Regions from separate parts of the Homo sapiens genome. Here region 1 is linked to region 2. Evidence: promoter capture Hi-C in 16 types of primary human blood cells and fetal thymus (Javierre and others, 2016). All regions are on one chromosome and are shown on one strand. Each heading gives the region's core, a stretch centred on a gene start or on the middle of the fragment in contact. The rest is flanking DNA. Distances are from core to core; before and after follow the strand shown.

Evidence for each region. Contacts are between HindIII fragments. The CHiCAGO score rates a contact against its expected background, and 5 or more counts as called.
Region 1: a contact is called between a fragment that was not itself captured here and the fragment with the promoter of ZNF266 in region 2, in 1 of 17 cell types (non-activated CD4 T cells). The highest score is 5.2, in non-activated CD4 T cells.

What each region holds. Positions count from the first base shown.
Region 1 is chr19:37,580,183-37,586,183 of GRCh38, forward strand. It overlaps ZNF571 (zinc finger protein 571), which reads right to left. Exons shown (of 4, transcript NM_016536.5): 3 at 3,789-3,915. ZNF571-AS1 (ZNF571 antisense RNA 1) reads left to right here. Exons shown (of 6, transcript NR_038248.1): 6 at 5,157-6,001. It also overlaps a transcript of ZNF540 not described here and the pseudogene MTCO1P41. Among named protein-coding and RNA genes, the nearest start is that of ZNF571, 12 kb to the right of the region's middle. The HindIII fragment of the contact is 5,270 bases long and covers 1-5,114 here.
Region 2 is chr19:9,434,091-9,440,110 of GRCh38, forward strand. ZNF266 (zinc finger protein 266) reads right to left here and starts at 1,483. Exons shown (of 11, transcript NM_001370374.1): 1 at 1,194-1,483; 2 at 1,018-1,103; 3 at 708-769; 4 at 1-145. LOC105372269 (a long non-coding RNA gene) reads left to right here and starts at 1,551. Exons shown (of 3, transcript XR_007067133.1): 1 at 1,551-1,682. RefSeq lists an enhancer at 1,274-1,403. The HindIII fragment of the contact is 21,418 bases long and covers 1-1,787 here.

The DNA.
Region 1 (6,001 bases), core at 1,230-3,729, about 28 Mb after region 2:
TATATTATCAGGTTTAGGCTTTATTTTCCTGCTGACAGTTGGAGGCCTAACAGGAACTGTTCTAACTCATCAGCAGACATCAATCCTCATGATATATACTGTGCTACAGCACATTTCTAACATGTTCTATCAATAGCTGCAGTCTTCACCATCACAGGATTTATTCACTGATTCCCATATTTTCAGGTTATACACTCAACCTGAGCCAAAATCCATTTTGTATTTGTAGGTGTTAGCTTGACTTTCTTTCCACAACATTTTCTTGATTTATCAGGCATGCCATGACAATAACTACACTGATGGATATACAACATGAAATACCATCTGCTATGGTTTGGATGTGGTTTGTACCCACCAAATCTCATGTTGAAATTTAGTCCCCAGTATGGCGTCTTGGGGGATGGGGTTTAGTGGGAGGTGCTTGGGTCATGGGGGCTGGTCCCCGAGAACAGATTAATGCCCTCCCTCAAGGGTGACTGAGCTCTCGCTCTACTAGTTCTCAAGGGAGCTGGTTTTTAAAAAAGCCTGTCACCTTTCCCCTCTCACCATGTGATCTCTGCACACACTGGCTCCCCTTCACCTTCCATCATGAATGGAAGCAGCCTGAGGTCCTCACCAGAAGCCAAACAGACATAGGTGCCATGCTTCTTGTACAACCTGCAGAACCACGAGCCAAATAAACCTCTTGTCTGTATAAATTACCCAGCCTCAGGTATCCTTTATAGTAACACAGTATGAACTAAGACACCTATTACACTTGAATTAGTTCCACTATAACACTTTGAAAAGTGACCAGCATCTATGTTTAAATACCAAAACTAGAAACATCCACATAATTTTTTTCAATAATTCTAGCATTATTTACTTCAATTGAAATTTTTGAAATATGCCTATTCTTAAAATCCATCACCAAAGAACACTGAAGCCTTAAAACGTGAGACCCCCTTGGGAAAAAGACAAGCTAAAATTTATTCACATCTTTCACTATTCCTACAATAATAGGACAATTTATTTATATTCTAATCATTTCATTCCCAAACATCATGTTTCCTACCCCCAATTGCCAAATCCATAATAGATTAGTCTCTTTTTAATAATGATTAGCACAACTTGTACTAACATAATAATACATAATGTCAAAGGATGTTATTACCAATAACAGCAACACGTCTTAAAGCACACTTTCAAGCAACCGTCCTTTTTGACCACCACCACTGAAGTTACCAGATCATTTACCTTTATACCACCCCTCCAGCATTTTATCTCCATTTCTTTCTTTCTTTCTTTTTTTTTTTTTTTTGGAGACATGGTCTTGCTCTGTCGCCCAGGCTGAAATGCAGTGGCGTGATCATGGTTCACTGCAACCTCGACCTCGGGGCTCAAATGATCCTCCCAACTCAGTCTCCCAAGTAGCTAGGACCACAGGCATGTGACATAATGCCCTGCTAATTTTTATTTTAAGTAGAGATGGGGTTTTGCTATGTTGCCCAGGCTGGTCCTGAATTCCTGGGCTCAAGCAATTCACCCACCTCAGCCTCCCAAAGTACTGGGATTACAGGCTTGAGCCATTGTGCCCAGCCTACCACCATTTTAAAGATTCTCCTGTGAAAAAAAAACAAAAAACAAAAACCTCTCCTGATTCTGTGGTTCACCCTGCAGTGGACAGGAGCTGCAGGGTGAACCAGGAGAATGGCAAAACTTCTCAAGAGGTATGCATGCTTCCTGTCTATACCTTTTGCTTTTCTTTCTCTCCTACCACCATAATTAACATTTTGCCATATTTCCTTCCTAAATTTGTTCCATGGATTTTTATGTAGTTGAAATAATACTGCATATATAAACTCTAATCACACTTCTTTCCCCTAATTATTACAGTGTTCTTAAAACCTTCTAAAATATTGTAAACTCTATTTGTAACTTTGAGGGTTCCTCAAATGGGCCTTCAACAGTGCCTGGTGAGTTAATTCACTGTCCCACTCTAGTTTTTATTGTTGACTTACTTCTTTCTCACTCTCTTTTAAATACTCCACAATGAGGTTTTTGTTCCTCTCATTGCCAAACCCACCTTGTCAGGGTCACCAACACCCTTCATCCTGCCAAATCCAATAGCCAATTTTCAGCGTTCCTCTTACTTGAACTCCTAGCATTATCTCTCTCAGCTAACTGCTTCCTCCTTTTGTCAGTTGGCTTCCAATACACTGCATTCCCTCTTCCTAGGTCACAGGTTACTCAGGTTAGTCCTCAATTTCCTTTGCTAGATTGTTTTCCTGACTGAATGTTGGAACACCCCATGGTTCAGTCCTTGAGCTGTACCTTGCCTTCCGTCTAAACCAATTCGCTCCATAATCTCATTCAGTTCCTCGGTACAGAGAGTAATCCCATATTTATCTCTTCAGTCCTGACTATCCCCTCCACCCACAGGCTTCCAAATGCTTATCTAACTTCACCACACAGATATCTAATGAGCATATCAAATACGTAACTCTTGACTTCCTTCTCCAGCCTTCCAAACCCTGATGCCTCTATTGCCAATCTTCAAAATAACTCCATTATGAAGGTATTAATTCTACCTTCAAAATATAGCCTGTTCTCATCACCTCCACATATTAAACCCAATTCCAAGCCACTGTTATCTCTAGTGTGAACTTCTGAACTAGTCCTCTCATTAGTCTTCCTGCTTTCATTTTTATCCTCACTGTTCACATAGCACTCAGTGACCTCTAAACAAAGATCCTTTACTTGTCTGCAAAAAGTCAGCCAGGGGCTCCCTATCACACTTAGAATAAAATCTCACTGCTTGCAACAACCAACAAGGTCCTACATGATTTGACCTCTGCCTATTTCTCTAACCTCACCTCAAATTTCCACTTTCAGTAGCCACACTGGCCTTCTTGCTGATTCTCAAACAAGTGAAGCTCAGTTTCTCTCAGGATCTTCTCTTCCCTCTGCCTGAACACACCTTTCCCTGATTTACAGCCAACTTTATTCAGGTCTTAATTCAAATGTTACCTCCCCTGAGCTATCATTCCTGGTCCTCCTAACCTATGAACGTAGCAAGCTCTCAGTACGTATGTGCTGGCTAGAGATACTTATCCAAGTTTAACTATAAAAGAGCAACCAGGAAAAACGTAATTCAAAAAATAGATAAAAGCATTGTCCCCAAAAGAGATCAGACCAAAGGTAGCTCCCTTATTAAAACAAAAAGGGAATGTAAAACAGAAGAGTGGCAAATGGGAGTTGGGAGGGAGGTTCCACGGGGAACTCACACACATAACCTTCCTGCTCTCCCTATGTCTCAAGCCTTCTTTCCACAGGCCTTTGAAGAGAGCTTCAGGCACACACCTCAAAGTGCTGCCACCTACGGATCAGCTGTATTATTAGCAATAGCTGACACTGTGACCAGCCTTTATTCACCTGAGCTCTGTCTTTATGTCATGGTTCTCATCAGCATCCAGGGCTCCTTTCCTTGCTCCAGTAAGGAAAGTATATTTGGCTTAGGGACTGCACATACAGCTTAAAAGAAAGGAAATGGTGCATGGTCATGCTAGGGGATTCCCAGATTCAAATCTAGTCCATTGGCATCAAAGAAGGGAGACACTGACAGGAAGTGACAGAGAAAGATGTGACAGTCTAAAGGATAAGAGATAAAAAGGTACACGGTGGAGCTGTCCATTTCTACTTCTACTCAAACGTAAGCCTTTCCTTAGGGAATGGAGATCAGAAATTCACAATGAATGAGGCAGAAATTATGGGGAACAAATTCTGAATATTACGTAGGATGATCTTACCCAATGAGATCAGGTTGCTGTAGTTCTCCAACATCACATCCCTGTACAAGTCCCTCTGAGCAGGGTCCAGGCATTCCCATTCCTCCTGAGAGAAGTCAATGGCCACATCCCTGAAAGTCACCAACAACTGAAACAACAAATCCATTACAGGATGATTCTACAGGAATGATTCTGAAGTGAAATGAGAAGAAAATGGAGGAGGTAATTGAAGGAAGCAAGTAACACAAAACAACAGGAAATTGGTTGCCTAAACAGTAGTATTAACCTGATTCTCTATCATTCCTATTGCCACAGATAAAACTTCCTCTGTACAATAGAACAATTCCATTATCCAGAAAGGTCTGAGAATTTAAAAAGCCAGATGTGTGCAGTTTCTTGATTAAAGAAAATACTGCAAGCGTTTTCTTCACAACAGGTTTTAATTGCACAGCAGATAAGGCTTCCAAATCCTCAATAACTAATATACTCTCAATTAATACAAGTTCTTGCTCTCCCTTCTGCCTTTAAATACTTTTAAAAAGATGAATTTTTTTCCAAACAATGTTTACCAAATCTCTAGGTTAGAAAATAAAATTTGAATATAACCTAAGAATTTTTTGAAGACTCAGATTCATCAAGTTATATTATGTCACAGAACAGAATGGACATATTTCCATTTTACATACAAAATGATCTGCTTATTTGGGAGTATCTGAATTAGACAAATTCTCGGCCGGGCGCGGTGGCTCACGCTTGTAATCCCAGCACTTTGGGAGGCCGAGGCGGGCGGATCACGAGGTCAGGAGATCGAGACCATCCTGGCTAACACGGTGAAACCCCGTCTCTACTAAAAATACAAAAAAAATTAGCCGGGCGTGATGGTGGGCACCTGTAGTCCCAGCTACTCGGGAGGCTGAGGCAGGAGAATGGCGTGAACCCTGGAGGCGGAGCTTGCAGTGAGCCGAGATTGCGCCACTGCACTCCCGCCTGGGCCACAGAGCGAGACTCCGTCTCAAAAAAAAAAAAAAAAAGGAATTAGACAAATTCTCTAATGTCTTTGAGCTCTTAGAATCTATAATTCTTGAGAGTATGCATCTGGCATGTTTTATTTGCTCCTATTTTCCACGTTCCTAGGCTATAGCAAGGTACTGGATGCCAGTCCAGGCACACAGAGACATCACTCTGAACTGGTACATTCCGGGAAATCCCAAGGTGAACTTGACTATGATCATCCTCTCTCATTGGTTCCTGGGCAAGAGGGTTGTAGAAGGCAGAATAAAGGCCCCCCAAACATGTCCACAACCTAATCCCTGAAACAGTAACAGTACTGACTCAATGATAAAGAAAAGCTTGCTTGCTTAAATATAATTACTTTGCTTGACTTTGTAGATTATTCAGTAAGAACAGTCTCAGGAAAACAGGACCTTCAACAGAGATAAGAGAATTAAAATATGCAGACTAACAACTCTGGGAATGGGCTGACCAGCCTGATAAGAATAGGCTGATGGCACCTACAGAAGGCCACAAAACACTGACCAAGAAAGCAATGACCAACAAAGCAATGACCTGAGACTGCACATTTCACAAGAATGTTTTGATCATCATTTTTTCTAATTTCCCTTAAAAACCCCTGATATGGAGACAGAACTCGGCGGTCTTTGAACACTAGTTCACTGCCTCCCCTGGGTTGTTGGATTCCTGAATAGAGCTAACCATCCTTTCACCAATGCTCATCTCTTAAACTTTCAAGTGACAAGTGGTCTGGACCTGAATTTCGTTACAAAACCTATGTATACCTTACCTTACATGGCAAAGGGGACTTTAGAAGTGCAATTAAATTAAGGATCTTGAGAGGGGGTTATCCTGGATTATCTGGTTGGGCCCAATGTATTTGTAAGTGATAGAGGGAGGCAGGTGAGTAAAAAAAGGAAACGTGATGATGAAAGCACAAGTCAAAATGTGATTGCTGGCTTTGAAAATGGATGGAAGCCACACCCCAGGGATCGTGGACAGCCTTTAGAACCAGAAAAGGACAAGGAAACAGATTCTCCAGTCCTCTAGAACCTCCAGAAGGAACATGGCTCTGCTAATACTATGATATTAGCCCTTTCAGACTGATTTCAGACTTCTGACCAGCAGAGGTATAAATCATAATTATATTGATTTAAGCCACTAAATTAGTGGTTATTAGTAACGGCAGCAACAGGAAACTATATCAGCAACAAGACTCCTTC
Region 2 (6,020 bases), core at 233-2,732:
ATGCACTCCTCTCTCTCACCATAGAAGTGGAGTCAGCCAATTCACAGAATGCTTTGCCCAGCTCTTATTTCCTTCCCCTTCAGTATGGCTAAATCATACCATATTTTTGGTCTCAGCTTGCATATCACTCTTTTCTTAGCATTGCCTATTCCAAAGAAAAATAGAGAAAATAATTCTGTCCTCTACTTTACTTACAGACCTTCATCAATTTGTAATACACTTATTTGCTTGGTTACATGACAGCCTCCTCCACTAGTTTACAACCTCCCTAAGAACAGCCCTAGGCTGAATTTTTTTACTATGCCTTAATTAACCATTCAGACACTCATCCATTTACAGGATACACCAATAAATGAAGGATACATTTAAACACGGCACAGAATACAATCAGAACTACCAAAATGTATAACTTTCTGAAAGAACGAGTGACTGCGCAAAAAGACAATATAACGGATAAACAGTGTCTGCTAGTTTTAAAGAGACTAAAAGACATGAAACTTGGATACGTAATAGATCCCAAAACAATCAAAACCATATATTGGAACAAAGTGGAGAACTGTACCTTTTTACACAGGGTACATATTAACAACATTTTAAATTTTCTGGGGTAATAGTATTATGGTTTTAAAAGGACATGTCTTTATCCACAGGACACGTATTACCAAGCATTTAAACCTTAAGTGTCACGCCTGCAATGTTCAACTTACTTCAAAGCCTCCATTCCTTCTTCCTAAAAGCCCGTTTTGAAGCTCTGTGGGGAGGTACAGGCCTAGGAAGTTCAGATAAAAAGAATAGCTGAGTATTCTTGCTTTTCTTCAGTAGAAAGACTTCTGGTCTACAAACGTTTATATTCACATAGAGAAATAACCACACCCCAGATACCTAAAAAATAGCTTTATGTTTCTACCTGAATGTAGAGTGTCAAAAGTAAATACAGGATGCGCAAAGAGAAAAACAAATTCTCAGATAAAACAGGAGGAAGAAGCCCCCGAAACCAACTTTCACCCCAGTACTCACCGCGACGAGCTGGACTCGCCAGGTACGGGAGATTGGGGGGATGAAGGACCAGTCAACCTGATTCGAACGACGAAAACTCGTTGTTTCTGGAAAAAAAAAAGTCACAAAGAATTGCTTTGGAAGAGTTTGAAGCGGCAATCACCGTGTTTGCAAAAATCGTGAGGAAGCGCCCTTACGACAGATCCCGAAACGGCTCCTGGCCCAGGGCCGTCGCAGTGACAACTCGAGTGGCTTTTTGAACCTGGCGGCGCCAGGAGGACCCGCGCGGCCCCGGCGGACGCGAGCGGAGCAGGCAAGGTCTCTCTAAGGAGGCCCCTCGGCGGCCTGGGGCAAACCGGTACTTTCGCCACCCCTTCCACCGCTGGCTCCCACCCGTCATCCGACCTCGCCAAAGCTGTATTAAGCCCAAACGCCACCAGGAAGAAAACGGGTTTGGCGGCGCGGAGAAAGCGCCGGAAAACACAGCAGCGCTCCGTGACGTCACTTCCGCCTCCAGCCTCAAACCTGGAGGAGCGCTCGGGAACTGCAACCTCAGCCGAGCTGAACAACCTCAGGCAGAGAGATTCTGGTTTACTCCCCAGTGGCTACGGAGACGCCTTGGAGGCCTTGGAGTCTGCTCACCTTGAGGGATGGAGGCCAAAAGGGGCCCAGAGCACAAGGCTGAGGTTAGAACCAGCCCTGCGGACGGGGCTAACCTAGGGTGGGGTCGGTGGTGTTGGCAAAGTTAGAGGTGGGGGCTCCCCCACAGGATGTGCACAATGCTCACAAAAAGCTTTTATTCTCACCTCCTCCCACGTTCCTAGCACCCTCAAAATGATGCTTCCTTTGATAATCCTGCCAGTCCATGATATGGCCTATCTCCTCCATTCATTCAATCTAGTTTTAGTTTTTTATTTTGTTTTTGTTTGAGACAGGGTCTCACTGTGTAGTCCAGGCTGGCGTGCTGTGGGGCGAAACTCATGGGCTCACGCCATCATCCCGCCTCAGCCTCCCGAGTAGCTGGGTCTACAGGCGCAGGCCACCATGCCCGGCTAATTTTTTTTCCCCCAGAGTTGAGGTATGTTACCCAGGCTGATCTCAAACTCCTGGGCTCCAACAATCATCCCGCCTCAGCCTCCCAAAAGGCTGGGATTACAGGCGTGCACCACGGCGCCGGGCCCAATTCAACTTGAGGCCAATATTTCCCCTTATTTCATTTATCTGGACGCCATGCTAAATTCTAATAGTTGATTCCTTTGTGTATTCAATATGCTGATACTTTTTGTAAATGTTGATTTTTTTTTCTTTGACTAATATATTGTTTTCTGAGATCTTACAGTGAGTTCCAGGGCCTCGTTGTAAAATACCGCGTTGTAAAATAGCACTGATATCAGGCATTCACTTCTGCAGGAGTGATTCTAGTTTCTCCAGAAATCGTTTTTGCTGTGCTTTGTAGTGGGTGGCCTTTATGGAGTTAATAAAGTTATTTTGAACACTGTTTTACTAACATGAAGAACTGTTCATGTACATTATCAAATATTTTGTGAATCTACTGAACTGGTAACTATTTTGCAGTTAATTTTTCAACTCAAAAAGATTTTCTTTTTTAAGTTTCCTCTCTTGCATTAAGAAGTCTTCATAAACTCTAGATTACATATAGATTTCCTAATTTTCTTCTGCAGCATATTACTTTAAAAACATTGAAATCTTTCATACTCATGGAATGTGTTTCAGTATGTGGTGTGGGATAGTGGATACAATATCTCTTTCCTCCAGAAACACGGCCAATTATTGTAGTACCACATATTGATAAACTGTCCTTGATTTACTGATTTCAAATTCCATGTTTATTAAACTATAAATTCCTATGTATACCTGTATCTGATTCTAGACTCTATGCCAGTAATACATTTACTTATGCCAATATCAAGATCATAATCTTTTCATTCCAGTGGTTTTGTATCAACTAATAATATTCCGTGGTAATAATAATAATAATGGTAGCTTTTTTGTTTGTTTGTTTTTGAGACAGTCTTGCTCTGTCACCCAGGCTGGAATACAGTGGTACGATCTCGGCTCACTGCAACCTCCACCTCCTGAGTTCTAGGGATTCTCCTTTCTCAGTCTCCTGAGTAGCTGGGATTATAGGCACGCGCCACCACGCTCAGCTAATTTTTGTATTTTTTTTTTTTTTTTTTTTTAGTAGAGATGGGGTTTCGCCATGTTGGCCAGGGTGGTCTCAAACTCCTAACCTCAGGTGATCTGCCCACCTCAGCCTCTGAAAGTGCTGGTGTGAGCCACCGCACCTGGCGGTAGCTGTTTTTTAAATCTTACTACCCTAAATGCTTAATAGACATTAAATTTTTACGCTCCCAATGATGTGGCTATTATTGTGATTTTTCCCTTTTGGTTTTTAGACCAGCTGTATTGAGATACAATTCACATATAACCAACACAGTTCACCCACTTAAAGCTATATAATTCAATATTTTTTAGTACATTCGCAGTGTTGTTCAAACATAATTTTGGAACATTTTAATCACACTAAAAGAAATCTTTGAATGGGAAAACCCATTTACCTCCTCTTTAAGCTCCAGGGAACCACAAACCTACTTTATCACTACAGATTTTTCTTTTGTAGACATTTCATATGGATATACTCATACAATTTATTTTTATTTTTGTATAGACAGGGTCTCACTATGTTGCAAGGCTGATCTCGAACTCCTGGGCTTAAGTAGTCCTGCCTCGGCCTCCAAAAGTGCTGGGATTATAGGCGTGAGCCACCATGCCCGGCCTAAAAATCATACAATCTTTTGTGAATAACTTTTTTCACTTAGCCCGTTTTTCAAGGTTCATCTGTATTATAGCCTAGATCATTCTATTTTATTGCTGAATGATATTCCATTCTATGTATATACCATATATGATTTGTCTTCAGTTGATGGACATATGGTTTGTTTCCACTTTGGGGGTGTTGTGATTAATGCTGCTATGAAAATTCACATATATCTTTTTGTGCATACTGGCTTTTATTTTTTGAGAAATCACAGCTCACTGCAGCCTCTACCTCCTAGGCTCAAGCGATCCTCCCACCTCAGCCTCCTGAGCAACTAGGACCACAGGCATAAGCCACCACACCCAGCTAATTTTTGTATTTTTTTGTAGAGACAGGGTTTTGCCCAGGCTGGTCTCAAACTCCTAAGCTCAAGCAACCTGCCCGCCTCGGCCTCCACAAAGGCATAAGCCACCACGCTCAGCTGGTTTTTATTTCTCTAGAGTATATATCTGGGAATGGAATTGCTGAGCCATACAGTAACTATCTAAGAATTTGAAGAACTGCCACACTGTTTTTGAAAGGGGCTGTACTGTTTTACATTCCCACCAGAAATGTATGAGGGCTCCAACTTCTCTACGTCCCTGCTAACACTTTAGTGTTTTTCATGTTAACTGTGTTAGTGGTGTGAGGTGATACCTCATGATTTTGACTTGTATTTCCCTAACACTAGTGATGTTCAGCATCATTTAATGTGCTTTGTTAGCCATTTGTATGCTTCTTTGGAGAAATTTCTGTTCAATTCCTTTGCCCCTTTTAAAATTTGTTTTCTGGCTGGGCACGGTGGCTTGTAATCCCAGCAATTTGGGAGGCTGAGACAGACAGATCACTTGAGGCCAGGAGTTCAAGACCAGCCTGGCCAACATCGTAAAAGATAAAAAATCAGCCAGGCGTGATAGCACACACCTGTAATCCCAGCTACTCGGGAGGCTGAGGCAGGAGAATCGCTTGAACCCGGGAGGAAGAGGTTGCAGTCAGCCAAGATTATGCCACCGCACTCCAGCCTGGGTGATAAAGTGAGACTCTGTTTCGAAAAAAAAAAAAAAAAAGGTCCGGGTGCAGTGGCTCACGCCTGTAATCCCAGCACTTTGGGAGGCCAAGGCAGGCAGATCACCTCAGGTTGGGAGTTCAAGACCACCCTGACCAACATGGAGAAACCCTGTCTCTACTAAAAATACAAAAAAGTAGCCAGGCATGGTGGCACATGCCTGTAATTTCAACTATTCAGGAGGCCAAGGCAGGAGAATCGCTTGAACCCAGGAGGCGGAGCTTGCGGTGAGCTGAGATGGTGCCATTGCAATCCAGCCTGGGCAACAAGAGCGAAACTCTCTATCTTAAAAAAAAAAATTCCATTGAGTTGCAAGAGTTCTTTATATATTCTGAAGAGAGGTCCTTATCATATATATGATTTACAAATATTTTCTCTCAATAGGTTTTCCTTCTCTTTCTTGATGGAATATTTTAGAATACTAAACTATATAATATTGATGAGTGTCCTCTGAAGTACAAGTTTAATGTTGATAATTTTTTGTTTGCAATGTTTTTGATACTGCACCTAAGAAAACAGTACTAAATCCAGTATCATGAAACTTTTCTGCCTATACTTCTGGGAATTATTGTAGGTCTTACATGTATGTTTAGGTCTTTGATCCATTGTCAGCTAACTTTTGTGGGGTTTTTAAATATTTTAATTTTTTTAGCTTAATCCCCAATGTGGTATCTGTTAACTTTTGTATGTGGTATAAAGTAAAAGCCCAAATGCATTCTTTTGCAGTATGGTATCAATTTCTCCCAGAACCATTTGTTGAAAACATTCTTTTCATTCTTCATTGAATTACCCTGGCAGCCTTGTAGATCTGTTGACCATATATGTGAGGGCTTACTTCTGGACTCTCAATTCTATTCCATTAATTTGTATGTTTATCCTTAAGCCAGTGCCACATTGTTTTGATTACTACAATTTTGTAGCACTTTATGAAATCCAAAAGTGTGACTCCTTCAACTGTGTTCCTCTTTTTCAAGACTGTTTGGCTATTTGGTGTTCTTTCCATTTCTATATAAAGTTTATGATGAGCCTGTCAATTTCTGCTATGAAGCCAGTGCTAAATTAAAAAAAAAAATAACATCAGTGGAACTTGTTAAAGCATAGTAAGGCAGACTTTATTCAGTACCATCACGTTAGGTATAG